Regions from separate parts of the Homo sapiens genome. Here regions 1, 3 and 4 are each linked to region 2. The links are contacts of gene promoters, found by promoter capture Hi-C in human tissues and cell types (Jung and others, 2019). All regions are on one chromosome and are shown on one strand. The core of a region is centred on a gene start or on the middle of the fragment in contact, and the rest is flanking DNA. Distances in the headings are between cores, read along the strand shown.

Region 1 (2,700 bases), core at 27-2,526, 320 kb before region 2:
GCTCCCACTTGGCCTTCCGCCATGACTGGGAGCTTCCAGAGGCCTCCCCAGGAGCAGATGCCGGCACCATGCTACCTGTACAGCCTGCAGAACCGGGAGCCAATTAAATCTCTTTTCTTACAAATTACCCAGTCTCGGTATTCCTTTACAGCAATGCAAGAAGGCCCTAACAGTGAGCCAGGAGGCCACTCACGCCAGGAGCCCATCATCTCTGAGTCAGTCTACACCAGCTCTCCTGCAATATTAATGCTATAGAAGAAACTGCCAGGCAACTCTCAGGAGAGAATTCAGAGCAGGAAAGGTTCTCTGAAGTTCCTGGCGCCTATCCTCTCATTTGCAAATGAAGAAACTGAGGTTTTGCACGGTGGCCACTAACCGGGGACACAATTGGGCCCAAGAAGTGGTCACCACTGCCCTCACTCTGTGTAAATGAGAAAGAGGAAACAGCCATCATCTATGGGACCAACTAGAGTGCAGGCCCGCCTCCACCTGGGGGGCCATCAGGGTGCGGGACCCGCCTCCACCTGGGGGGGCCATCAGGGTGCGGGGCCCGCCTCCATCTAGGGTGCCATCAGGGTGCGGGACCCGCCTCCACCTGGGGGGCCATCAGGGAGCAGGGCCCGCATCCATCTAGGGGACCATTAGGGTTCAGGGCCCGCCTCCACCTGGGGGACCATTAGGGTGCGGGGCCCTCCTCCATTCGGGAGTCAGAGCTCGGGGCCGCCTCCATCTGGGCACCGGGCCCTCCTCCATCTGGAGACCATTGGGGAGCGGGGCCTGCCTCCCTCTGGGGCACCATGGGGCACGGGGCCCGCCTCCATCTGGGGCTCACAACGGGCGCAGGCCCCCTCCCCCGGGGCTGCCTCCCCAAAGCTCTGCCCCGGCACGGCGGTGAGCTCAAGCCTCCTGCAGCGTGGGCGCGTCCGTCCGGCCCGCCCCGCCCCGAGGTGTGGACGCCGCCGCTCCCCTCCGGCCGGCCAGGCGCCCCGCGTGCCCCGGGAGAGCCGCGGAGTCGGCCCGCCAGCCGCAGCTGAGCAGTAGCCCTGACCCAAGGCCCCGCCCGCAACCGCAGGTCACCGCCCCCGCCCGACCCTCGCCCGGCTGCCTCACCGGCCCGCGCTGAGTGCTGACGGTGGTCGCCATGGTGCTGCGGCGGCCCCCGTGGCTCGCCGACCCGACAGTGACGCGCCGGGCGACCTCCTGCGCCCCCGCCGGAGCCTGCGACGGAGACAGTTGTCACCTCGAGGCCGCCGCCGCCACAGTCAGCTGACAGCCGCCGCGCCCCGCCCCCGGCACCGCCCCACTGCGCAGGCGCCGCGCCAGGCACCGCCCCTTCCGGCTCTCGCGCGCACGCGCGCTCCAGGGTAGGGCAGGCGCAGCCTCTCGCCCGGCGCCTGCGCACCTGCTCTCTCCTCGAGCCCTGCAGCCCGGCGAAATGGCTCCCGGCGGGGCCGTTTGCGCATGCCCAGTCATGACGGTTGTCGGCGCGGGCCCTAGCGTGGCGGCGCTGCAGTCTGGGCAGTGGGTTGGTTCCTCCTCGGTCCTCTGTCGAGTGGCGACAGGGCCTAGCCACCTGGCGGGGGTGACCTTCGGACGTGCGACCCGCTCGGAGAAGGGAGGGAACTGTGGCCCGCAACAAAGCAGTGACAGGCCCGACATCCCCTGCAGGGCGATCTTTCCCTCAGCTGCCTGCCGGAGGAAGGGCCTTTCTGTTTCACAGGGCTAAAGATGGGGCGCGGTTCCTCCACGGGGCGGCTGCCGGGTGAACGGAACGGGGATGGAGGCGCTGCCAGAAGAGCCCGAGCTCGAGCCCGCCCTGCCCTCGGCCTCCCCGCCGCGCCGCTCCGCAGGAGCCCCGCTCCTCTCCTGCTCGCTCCGGAGAACCCCAGTCCGGCCTGACCTCGGCCCTCGCGGTCAGGCGCTCCAACCAGAGCGACTCCAGCTCGAACAGCGCTGGGTAAACTGAGGCTGAACCCCGCTGGCTGCATCCCCAGGAGTCGGGCGTTTACGGTCACGGGAACAGGTTAATAAACTTTTACGCAGCAGACCCGGAACTTAGGTCCCGATGTCCGGGTATCTTAAGAACAAGAAGCATTCTTAGTTGAAGTTTCGCTTTAAAGATAATGATACAGATGCTTGCGGAGGACAGGCGTTATGCAAAGATTGGCAATCCTTTGACGAGCCCAGGTAGTACAGCACGTCTCCCCCGTGATGTTTTTTGGCTTTTATCTTACATATAAACAAGCGTACCCAGGTGGACGCCTTCCTCCTCGTGCTTTTGGGAACACCCTGCTCTATGGAGTAGCCATTCTTTTATTCCTTCACTGCCTTAATAAACTTGCTTTCACTTTACTCTGTGGACTGGCCTGGAATTCTTTCTTCCACAAGATCCACGAATCCTCTTTTGGGGTCTGGATCAGGACCCTTTTCCGGTAACACAACCACTCCACTAAAAACTCTTTGTCAGTGATCTCTATATTGTTAGTGGTCAGTTCTCAGTCCTCGTCCTCCGGGAACTACAGCAAAATCGATAGTCATTCTTGCTACACATGCTTTCTTCACTCCCCATCCAGGACACCATGTGCTCTCACTTTCCTCTTATCCCAAAGACCACATCTTTGGGTCTCGGTTACCAGTCTCTCCTTTTAAAACCGGCAGCCTGGCCGCTTGCCTGTTTTGATGGGGTGTAGAGAAAAAGAA
Region 2 (2,700 bases), core at 184-2,683:
ATCAGGCGCTGGATGCAAATGTATCAGGCACTGGATGCGAATGTATCAGGCGCTGGATGCGAATGTATCAGGCGCTGGATGCGAATGTATCAGGCGCTGGATGCGAACGTATCAGGCGCTGGATGCGAATGTATCAGGCGCTGGATGCGAATGTATCAGGAAGCAAATGTATCTGTTGCCTCTGTTCCAGAGCTGGAGGATGCCGCCTCTGGTGGGGACAGCCAACACAAGGCGGCTCTCTCCTAATGGGTTTTCTGTTCCTCCCTGAGATACAGTCCCCTGCCCCAGAACAGAGTGGGGCTCCAGCATACACGGCAAGAGTCACCGAGTGCCAGCTGGTGTTTACACCGTGGCCTGAGGCCTGTTGACTGGGCTCGGGGCACTCACAGGTATTGTGGTCACGGGGGCAAATGGCCATCCGGTTCCCTGCTCTCCACCGGCTTTCTTTAGCATCCAGTGGGCCTGCACCCGAATGTAGTTGCTGCTTCCCAGGCTGAGCCCGGGACCCGGAGCAGGCGGGCACCCAGACAGGGCATCCTCTTCCGCTCACTGGCCCTGAAAGGGCCTCTGCCATCAGCCTGTGCCGCTGTCCGGGAGCCCCTGGGCCGGCCACGCAGTGGGGGAACCCGCTTCACAGCGACACCGTGCGGCGGCAGGAGGAACCGCTGCAGGAGACAATGCGATCTGGGTCCTGACCCAGCGCAGAGGCAGTGTCTGCCCCTTGCAATGCTTGGATTTCCTTCCTCAAAAGGCAGCCTTCGATGATCTGAAATTCAAGTTCCAGCAGGCATCCTGTACTGTATCTGTCAGCCCTGCCACCCGAGTGGTCTGAAAGCCCTGGAAGAGACCGCGGTTATCACAGGAGAACACTTTCCATGGGGAGCACGCAGCAAGCTCCAGAATAAGCGCTTAAAATCCCCGTCTCAGTCAACACTGCAAACCTTCCAACAAAGTCTTACACCGAAAACGACCCTGCTGAGCTGAGGGCTGAAGCCCCAGGTCCTGGGACCCTTGGAAACAGCCCGCGGGCCAGGAGCTGCTGTGGACCGTGAAGGTGTAGGGCCTAGGCACGTCCCAAGCAAGACACGATGCTCCCGCAGAGGAATCTTCCCGGGAGCAAGCCAGGAGTCCTGGGCTCAAAATCACCCTCGGCAAGACCAAGGCCTCTGAGCGAGCCACTGCCTGCCCATCGCTTCCTTCTTGTCACATGGAAAGGGAAACTCACCGCGGGGCCAGTGTTTACTGAGGGGCCGCTTCCATCACAGACCTGACAGCACATTCGAGAAAAGTGCGAGGAAAACAGGAGTTATTTATAAAAATGTAAAGCAGAAGAGAATACTGGGACCAGTGGCACAAGCAGGAACCAGGAAGTGACAGTGTGCCCAGCCTCTCACCTGACCCTGGACAGGGATATAAAGAGCCCGGGCTCAGGGGGCTCCACACCTGCACCTCCCTCTCACCTGCTCCTCTACCTGCTCCACCCTCAATCCACCAGAACCATGGGCTGCTGTGGCTGCTCCGGAGGCTGTGGCTCCGGCTGTGGAGGCCGTGGCTCCGGCTGTGGGGGCTGTGGCTCCGGCTGTGGAGGCTGTGGCTCTGGCTGTGGGGGCTGTGGCTCCGGCTGTGGAGGCTGTGGGGGCTGTGGCTCCGGCTGTGCGGGCTGTGGGGGATGTGGCTCCGGCTGCTGTGTGCCTGTCTGCTGCTGCAAGCCCATGTGCTGCTGTGTGCCAGCTTGTTCCTGCTCCAGCTGTGGCAAAGGGGGCTGTGGCTCTTGCGGGGGCTCCAAGAGAGGCTGTGTCTCCTGTGGGGTGTCCAAGGGGGCCTGTGGCTCCTGTGGGGGGTCCAAGGGGGGCTGTGGCTCCTGTGGGGGGTCCAAGGGGGGCTGTGGCTCCTGTGGGGGGTCCAAGGGGGGCTGTGGCTCCTGTGGGGGGTCCAAGGGGGGCTGTGGTTCTTATGGCTGCTCCCAGTCCAGCTGCTGCAAGCCCTGCTGCTGCTCCTCAGGCTGTGGGTCATCCTGCTGCCAGTCCAGCTGCTGTAAGCCTTACTGCTGCCAGTCCAGCTGCTGTAAGCCCTACTGCTGCCAGTCCAGCTGCTGTAAGCCCTGTAGCTGCTTCTCAGGCTGTGGATCATCCTGCTGCCAATCCAGCTGCTACAAGCCCTGCTGCTGCCAGTCCAGCTGCTGTGTCCCCGTGTGCTGCCAGTGTAAGATCTGAGGCTCTGACTGCAGACTGCAGGTGGCCTGACTGGTGAAGGGCCCGGCTGCCCAGCTTCCTTGCCCTGGGTTCTCTGGTGCTCCACTGTCTCCACTGTGTCCTCACTGGCTTCATCCACTCCACACCAGTGCTCCCGAAACTGACTGAGGACCCCTTCTGGCTCATTGCCTACTACTTCTCCTGAACTTCCTCTCCCTGCTCCTCACTCATTTAAGATCCAAAGCGGCCCACTGAGGCCCCAGAGGCAGATCAGACCCCTTAGACCCTGACAGCTGCTCCTTCTTTCAGGAGTGTGATCGACCCTCAATCTCTCTGGCTGTCTGTATATCAAGACTGAATCCTGACCCTCTAAATAAACAAAGTCTCTAAGCACAAAGCTCACTGTCTTGTGGTTCTCTCCTTCCCACCTCTCTCTCATTCCCAGAAGCACCATCTTCTTGCCTCCACCCCTGGGCCTGTTCCCATTTCTCTCCCCTCAGCATCTTTC
Region 3 (2,700 bases), core at 116-2,615, 400 kb before region 2:
AGAGCTGACCTCCCGCCCGCCTCCTTCCGCAGGCCATCCGGGTCCAAGCGGACGGCGGCGTGTTCCTCAACTCCATCTACACGCAGCTGCCCCTGTCGGCAGGTATGTGGCTCTCCCAGGACGGCCGGGCTGGGTGGCGCCTGCTTGCAGGGGCAGCTCCCACAGCCTGGGCAGCGTCCGCTCCATCCCTGCTAGTTCTCCGTGGCCTCGGGCAGCTCCAGGAGCTCCCTGTGCTCGGTTTCTCGTCTGCAGAGTGGGGATGCCAGGCTCCCACCCCGGCAGCGGCAGGGACCCCACATCCAGCTCGCTCAGCCCCACTCTCTCAGGGAGCCCGGTCTCCACCTGAGCCCACTTGGCGGCCACAGGCATGGGACAGGGAGCCTGAGGGCTCCTGGCCACTCCTGGGTCTCACTCCCGGGTCTCAGTGGGGTGGCCCGGCCCACTGGATGCCCTGCCCCTCCAATCTAGCCAGATCTGTCCCTGCACCCCTGACCGGCCTCTCCCCCACACTCCCGGCAGCCAACATCACCCTGTTCACACCCTCGAGCTTCTTCATCGTGGTGCAGACAGGCCTGGGGCTGCAGCTGCTGGTGCAGCTGGTGCCACTCATGCAGGTGTTTGTCAGGCTGGACCCCGCCCACCAGGGCCAGATGTGCGGTGAGGCTGGGCAGGGGCCTTCGGGGACAGGGCCATTGGGGACGGGGCCTGGACTAGCGCCAGGCTGCAGGGAGGGGCAGGCAGAGGCGGGCAGGGGACCGGGGAGGGGGCTGCCCCCAGGGCATGGCGGAGATCCTGGTGCCAGCGCAGGACACCAGCATTGGACCAGCGGCCCCGGAAGCAGCCAGCTGGGAGGATGGAGCGGGCAGCCCTGCCCTGGCTCAGGCCGACTTTGCACAGGGGCTGGCTTTGCACAGGGGCCGACTGCACAGGGGCGCCCCCCGCCAGGGCTTATCTGCAGAGGGTTCTGGGAGCAGAATCCTGGGACAGGGCTCCCAGCCGTTCCACCCTGTGTGGTGCCTGGAGGGATGGCAGGGGCCAGGAGCCAGGTGGGCCCAACAGTGGCCGCTGACATCCCCCAACCCTGGCCCCCAGGCCTGTGTGGGAACTTCAACCAGAACCAGGCTGACGACTTCACGGCCCTCAGCGGGGTGGTGGAGGCCACGGGCGCAGCCTTCGCCAACACCTGGAAGGCCCAGGCTGCCTGTGCCAATGCCAGGAACAGCTTTGAGGACCCCTGCTCCCTCAGTGTGGAGAATGGTACTCCTCGCCCCCACCCCCACAGTCACCCCAGGCTCAAGTCCCACCCAGCACCTTCCTGTCCCCTGGGCCACGGGGACCCCTGGGTGGGATTGGGGACCCCATGGAGGCAGGTGGGAGGCATCAGGAGGAGGTGCTTGGGGCCAGGCGGCCAGAACCCCCCAAGGCGCAGCAGGTGAGCCGCAAATTCCAACTCACTGTTCCCCGGGCTGAGGGGGTCGCAGGCCTGCGTGTCAGGGGTGTGGGCTTCGGGGCAGGGCGTGGAGATGAGGTCAGGTCTTCCCCACAGAGAACTACGCCCGGCACTGGTGCTCGCGCCTGACCGATCCCAACAGTGCCTTCTCGCGCTGCCACTCCATCATCAACCCCAAGCCCTTCCACTCGGTGAGAGGCTGAGGCCAGACCCCCACGCCTGGGCAGGATGGGTGGGGGAGCCCTGGCAGGCTGGGGTCCCTGACGCCCCGATGCCTCCCACCTCCGCAGAACTGCATGTTTGACACCTGCAACTGTGAGCGGAGCGAGGACTGCCTGTGCGCCGCGCTGTCCTCCTATGTGCACGCCTGTGCCGCCAAGGGCGTACAGCTCAGCGACTGGAGGGACGGCGTCTGCAGTGAGTGCCCACGCTGGGGGTGGGATGTGTCCACACCGCGTGGGGGTGCGGGGGACCCTGGCCGGCAGCAGCCGTCACTCACACGGTTCTCAGCCCAGAGCTTTGCACTTCCTCATCCCAGCCTCGCAAGAACCTCATGCCCTTGCGATCCCCACGTCACAGACGGGGATGCTGAGTTGAAGATGGGGGCTGGCCAGGCTGCTCGGCCGCTGACCTGTCCCCCCTGGCCCCACCGACCACAGCCAAGTACATGCAGAACTGCCCCAAGTCCCAGCGCTACGCCTACGTGGTGGATGCCTGCCAGCCCACTTGCCGCGGCCTGAGTGAGGCCGACGTCACCTGCAGCGTTTCCTTCGTGCCTGTGGACGGCTGCACCTGCCCCGCGGGCACCTTCCTCAATGACGCGGGCGCCTGTGTGCCCGCCCAGGAGTGCCCCTGCTACGCTCACGGCACCGTGCTGGCTCCTGGAGAGGTGGTGCACGACGAGGGCGCCGTGTGGTAAGGGTCTGGGGGGAAAGCAGGCCCCCCAGGTGCTCCTCAGAGCCACTTCCCGCCCTCCCCGAAGGCTTCTGTGCCTCCCCCCGAGGGTTCTGAGACATGAGGGGCCAGGCTGGGGAGAGTGGGGCAGGGTGGACCCAGCACATTCTGAAGAGAAAATTCCCAGCTGGGAAAGAGGCCAGGAGAGGAGGTGGCCCTGGGAGGACACCTGCTGGCTGTTCTCAGCTGGGTCCACATGGCAGCCCCTGCCAGGAAAGGTGGGTGGCCCCCACTCCCACCCTGGGCTCAAAGGCCGCTCCTAACCCCAGGGTCCTGGCTGCTTTGCTGCCCCCCTG
Region 4 (2,733 bases), core at 148-2,647, 270 kb after region 2:
GTGGGTGGCAAGGGCAGTCTTTCTGTGATACTCTCAGAAAACCAAATGTCTGGGTTCTAGATTGTGAAGCGTTTGATAGGGTCCTCAGTGGACCATGAAAAGCTTTCTGTACCTGGTGAAAATATACTTAGGCATAATGCATTAAGGCCTAGGAGCCTTTAGCCATATCGGAGTTGAGGAGTGGAAGATACATGAGGTTCTATATAGGACTTCCAGGGACTATTTCATAAGGCACCAACTTATGTTTTCCACTGGAAATGGACCCGACGGCCATCCACCTGCAACACCCTTGACCAAGGCAGCCCAGTTCATTCATTTCCCTTGCTTAATATTATTGTATCTGTAACAAGTTATTAACAGTTTTACCACTTGAGCAGTGAAACAAGTACATCTATCATGGGAGATTTCTCAAGGGACGTCCCATGAGAAAAACAATTTTCTAATAATCTTTTAGCTACTGCTATAACATCAGTGCTCTTGCCTGGGAAAGCTTCTATATAACCAGAAAACACGCATTGAAAATGACAATTGAAGGAAATCCCTCCAGCAATGTTTCAATGGCCCATCAAGTAGCAGAAGTGTAATGGAAGTTTCGATTGTCCTCCCAGGATTATGGGTTTGGCAGACCAAACATTGGTCGTAAACCATTTTAACAACTTACAACGGTCACCATGTCAAATATATATATGTATATTATATATACATATATATATAAAATTTGGATTAATTTGTCTCTTCCATGATGAATCATGGAGTGCAGAGCATTTAATAGTGGAAGCTTCAAGGACACAGGAAGGACCAGGTGGCCATCTTGGCTGTCCATGTGTCCATGCTTGATGCTGGACTTATATCTTCTTAAATACCAATTTTGTTTCTCCAGTTCAGGTGCATAGCACTGTTTATTAGAAGGGTTATCATAGGTAATTTGACTTGGACGATGGATTTAATTCAAATTGGGTATCTAAACAATATCAGTACTGGCTGATTTAGCATGAAAAGCTGGCAAAGTGTTTTCTTGGTATTCAATTAATTTTTGTCCTGCCCAGGTTAGCAATTTTATAAACCAGTCAATCTTTCCATTAGAGTTCCGGGAATTTTTACCCAGTCCAAATGACATTACACTAAAGTTATCAGAAGCCTATTCAAGAGGGCTTATCAGGGTCCTTTCTCTCCTTTCACGAACCTCCTGGAGGACTCAATATTGTAGGACTGTGTGTGTTTGTGAGTTTTCAGAAACGTCAGAAAAAAGCAATTAACTCTGGAAATGACGTAAAATGGTCATGGTTAAAGAAGAACTGACAAGGAATTTTGATTACTTCTGTGGCCTACAATAACTTAACTGTAATTAAGAGTGACAGCATATACCCGGATGTATCAGAATTTTAGGAACCCCATACAATTTTGGAGCATATATTAATGACGTATTCACAAACAATATCTCAAATAAGGTTAAACATCATTTCTTATTTGGCAGTGCTTCCCATGTAATTTAATTTATCAAATACTTCTGTCTCTCTCTTTTTTGGATACTATAGGGGCCCTTAGTAGCTCTCTCCACTGGGAAAGGCTGTTATCGTCTTTGTTTTAAACTATAAACTAAGTTTCTCCCAAAGTTAGTTCAGCCTACTCCCAGGAATAAGCAAGGACAGGAATAAGCAAGGAGGTTAGAAGCAAGATGGAAGGGCCAGGCACGGTGGCTTACGCCTGTAACCCCATCACTTTGGGAGGCCGAGGTGAGCAGATCACAAGGTCAGGAGTTCCAGACCAGCCTGGCCAATATGGTGAAACCTCATCTCTACTAAAAAAAATACAAAATTAGTCGGGCGTTGTGGCAGATGCCTGTAATCCCAGTTACTTGGGAGGCTGAGGCAGGAGAATCGCTTGAACCCAGGAGGCAGAGGTTGTGGTGAGCCAAGTTTACGCCATTGCACTCCAGCCTGGGCGACAAGAGCAAAACACCACCTCTAAAAAAAAAAAAAGGCAAGATGGAGTCAATTAAGTTAGATGTCTCTCACCGTCTCAGTCAAAGAGACAATGCAAAGGTGGTTTCAGCTTTTTCCTAAATATTATCAGATACATGTCATACAGAGAGACATATAGTCATAACAGACACAGATAGAAACAGATCTTACAGATTTCAGAAAGAATTTTCATTTGCCAGCTTTCAAATAGTTTTCTTTTCCCCCTTTAGACTATCAATCTTCTAATTACTTGTTTTATCATCCTAAGCAATCGTTAGCTAGGGAACAATTTGCCTTCAAAAAAGATAACTCTTAGGTGAAACAAGGCAGAAAATGTATATATGAAAAGCTATTTAAGCTGAGACTTTCAGCTTAAATACTGTACCATCATCATTTGCTCAACCAAGAAAAAAGCAAGGCCCAGTGAAGACAACATGGCCAGGAAAAACACGTTAAACAAAGGTAAGACTTGTTACGTAAATTTAAAACAAAGGGATGTCCCTCCCAGACGTTGCAAATGGAAATGTCTTGTGGAGATGTAAATTTCTTTCACAAAATGGTTTCAAGGTAGCCGTTGAATGTCAGAAAGGTGCATTTTAGTTATTAGGCTGGTTGAAAAGTAATTGCAAAAACCACAATTATGGCCGGGCGCGGTGGCTCACGCCTGTAATCCCAGCACTTTGGGAGGCCGAGGCGGGTGGATCATGAGGTCAGGAGATCGAGACCATCCTGGCTAACATGGTGAGATCCCGTCTCTACTAAAAATACAAAA

Evidence for each region. The method cuts DNA at HindIII sites, captures the fragments that hold promoters and counts their contacts. A contact is called where the count stands out against the background at its distance.
Region 1: the fragment with the promoter of TOLLIP here is called in contact with the fragment with the promoter of KRTAP5-5 in region 2 in 2 of the 25 tissues and cell types used here (lymphoblastoid cells and mesenchymal stem cells).
Region 3: a fragment that was not itself captured here is called in contact with the fragment with the promoter of KRTAP5-5 in region 2 in 1 of the 25 tissues and cell types used here (spleen).
Region 4: a contact is called between a fragment that was not itself captured here and the fragment with the promoter of KRTAP5-5 in region 2, in 7 of the 25 tissues and cell types used here (adrenal gland, bladder, dorsolateral prefrontal cortex and 4 more).

What each region holds. Positions count from the first base shown.
Region 1 is chr11:1,308,356-1,311,055 of GRCh38, forward strand. It overlaps TOLLIP (toll interacting protein), which reads right to left and starts at 1,277. Exons shown (of 6, transcript NM_019009.4): 1 at 1,111-1,277. The coding sequence starts at 1,143. It overlaps TOLLIP-DT (TOLLIP divergent transcript), which reads left to right and starts at 1,353. Exons shown (of 1, transcript NR_029409.1): 1 at 1,353-2,352. RefSeq lists a silencer at 733-1,442 and an enhancer at 1,673-2,434. The HindIII fragment of the contact is 18,535 bases long and covers 1-2,700 here.
Region 2 is chr11:1,628,342-1,631,041 of GRCh38, forward strand. KRTAP5-5 (keratin associated protein 5-5) reads left to right here and starts at 1,434. Exons shown (of 1, transcript NM_001001480.3): 1 at 1,434-2,589. The coding sequence starts at 1,500. The coding sequence ends at 2,213. The HindIII fragment of the contact is 7,029 bases long and covers 1-2,700 here.
Region 3 is chr11:1,230,904-1,233,603 of GRCh38, forward strand. MUC5B (mucin 5B, oligomeric mucus/gel-forming) reads left to right here. Exons shown (of 49, transcript NM_002458.3): 13 at 33-102; 14 at 520-657; 15 at 1,093-1,257; 16 at 1,547-1,641; 17 at 1,741-1,867; 18 at 2,110-2,365. Among named protein-coding and RNA genes, the nearest start is that of MUC5B, 9.2 kb to the left of the region's middle. The HindIII fragment of the contact is 5,029 bases long and covers 1-2,700 here.
Region 4 is chr11:1,899,348-1,902,080 of GRCh38, forward strand. The region is part of intron 1 of LINC01150 (long intergenic non-protein coding RNA 1150); the gene reads left to right. It also overlaps a transcript of PRR33 not described here. Among named protein-coding and RNA genes, the nearest start is that of LINC01150, 4.0 kb to the left of the region's middle. The HindIII fragment of the contact is 4,546 bases long and covers 1-2,733 here.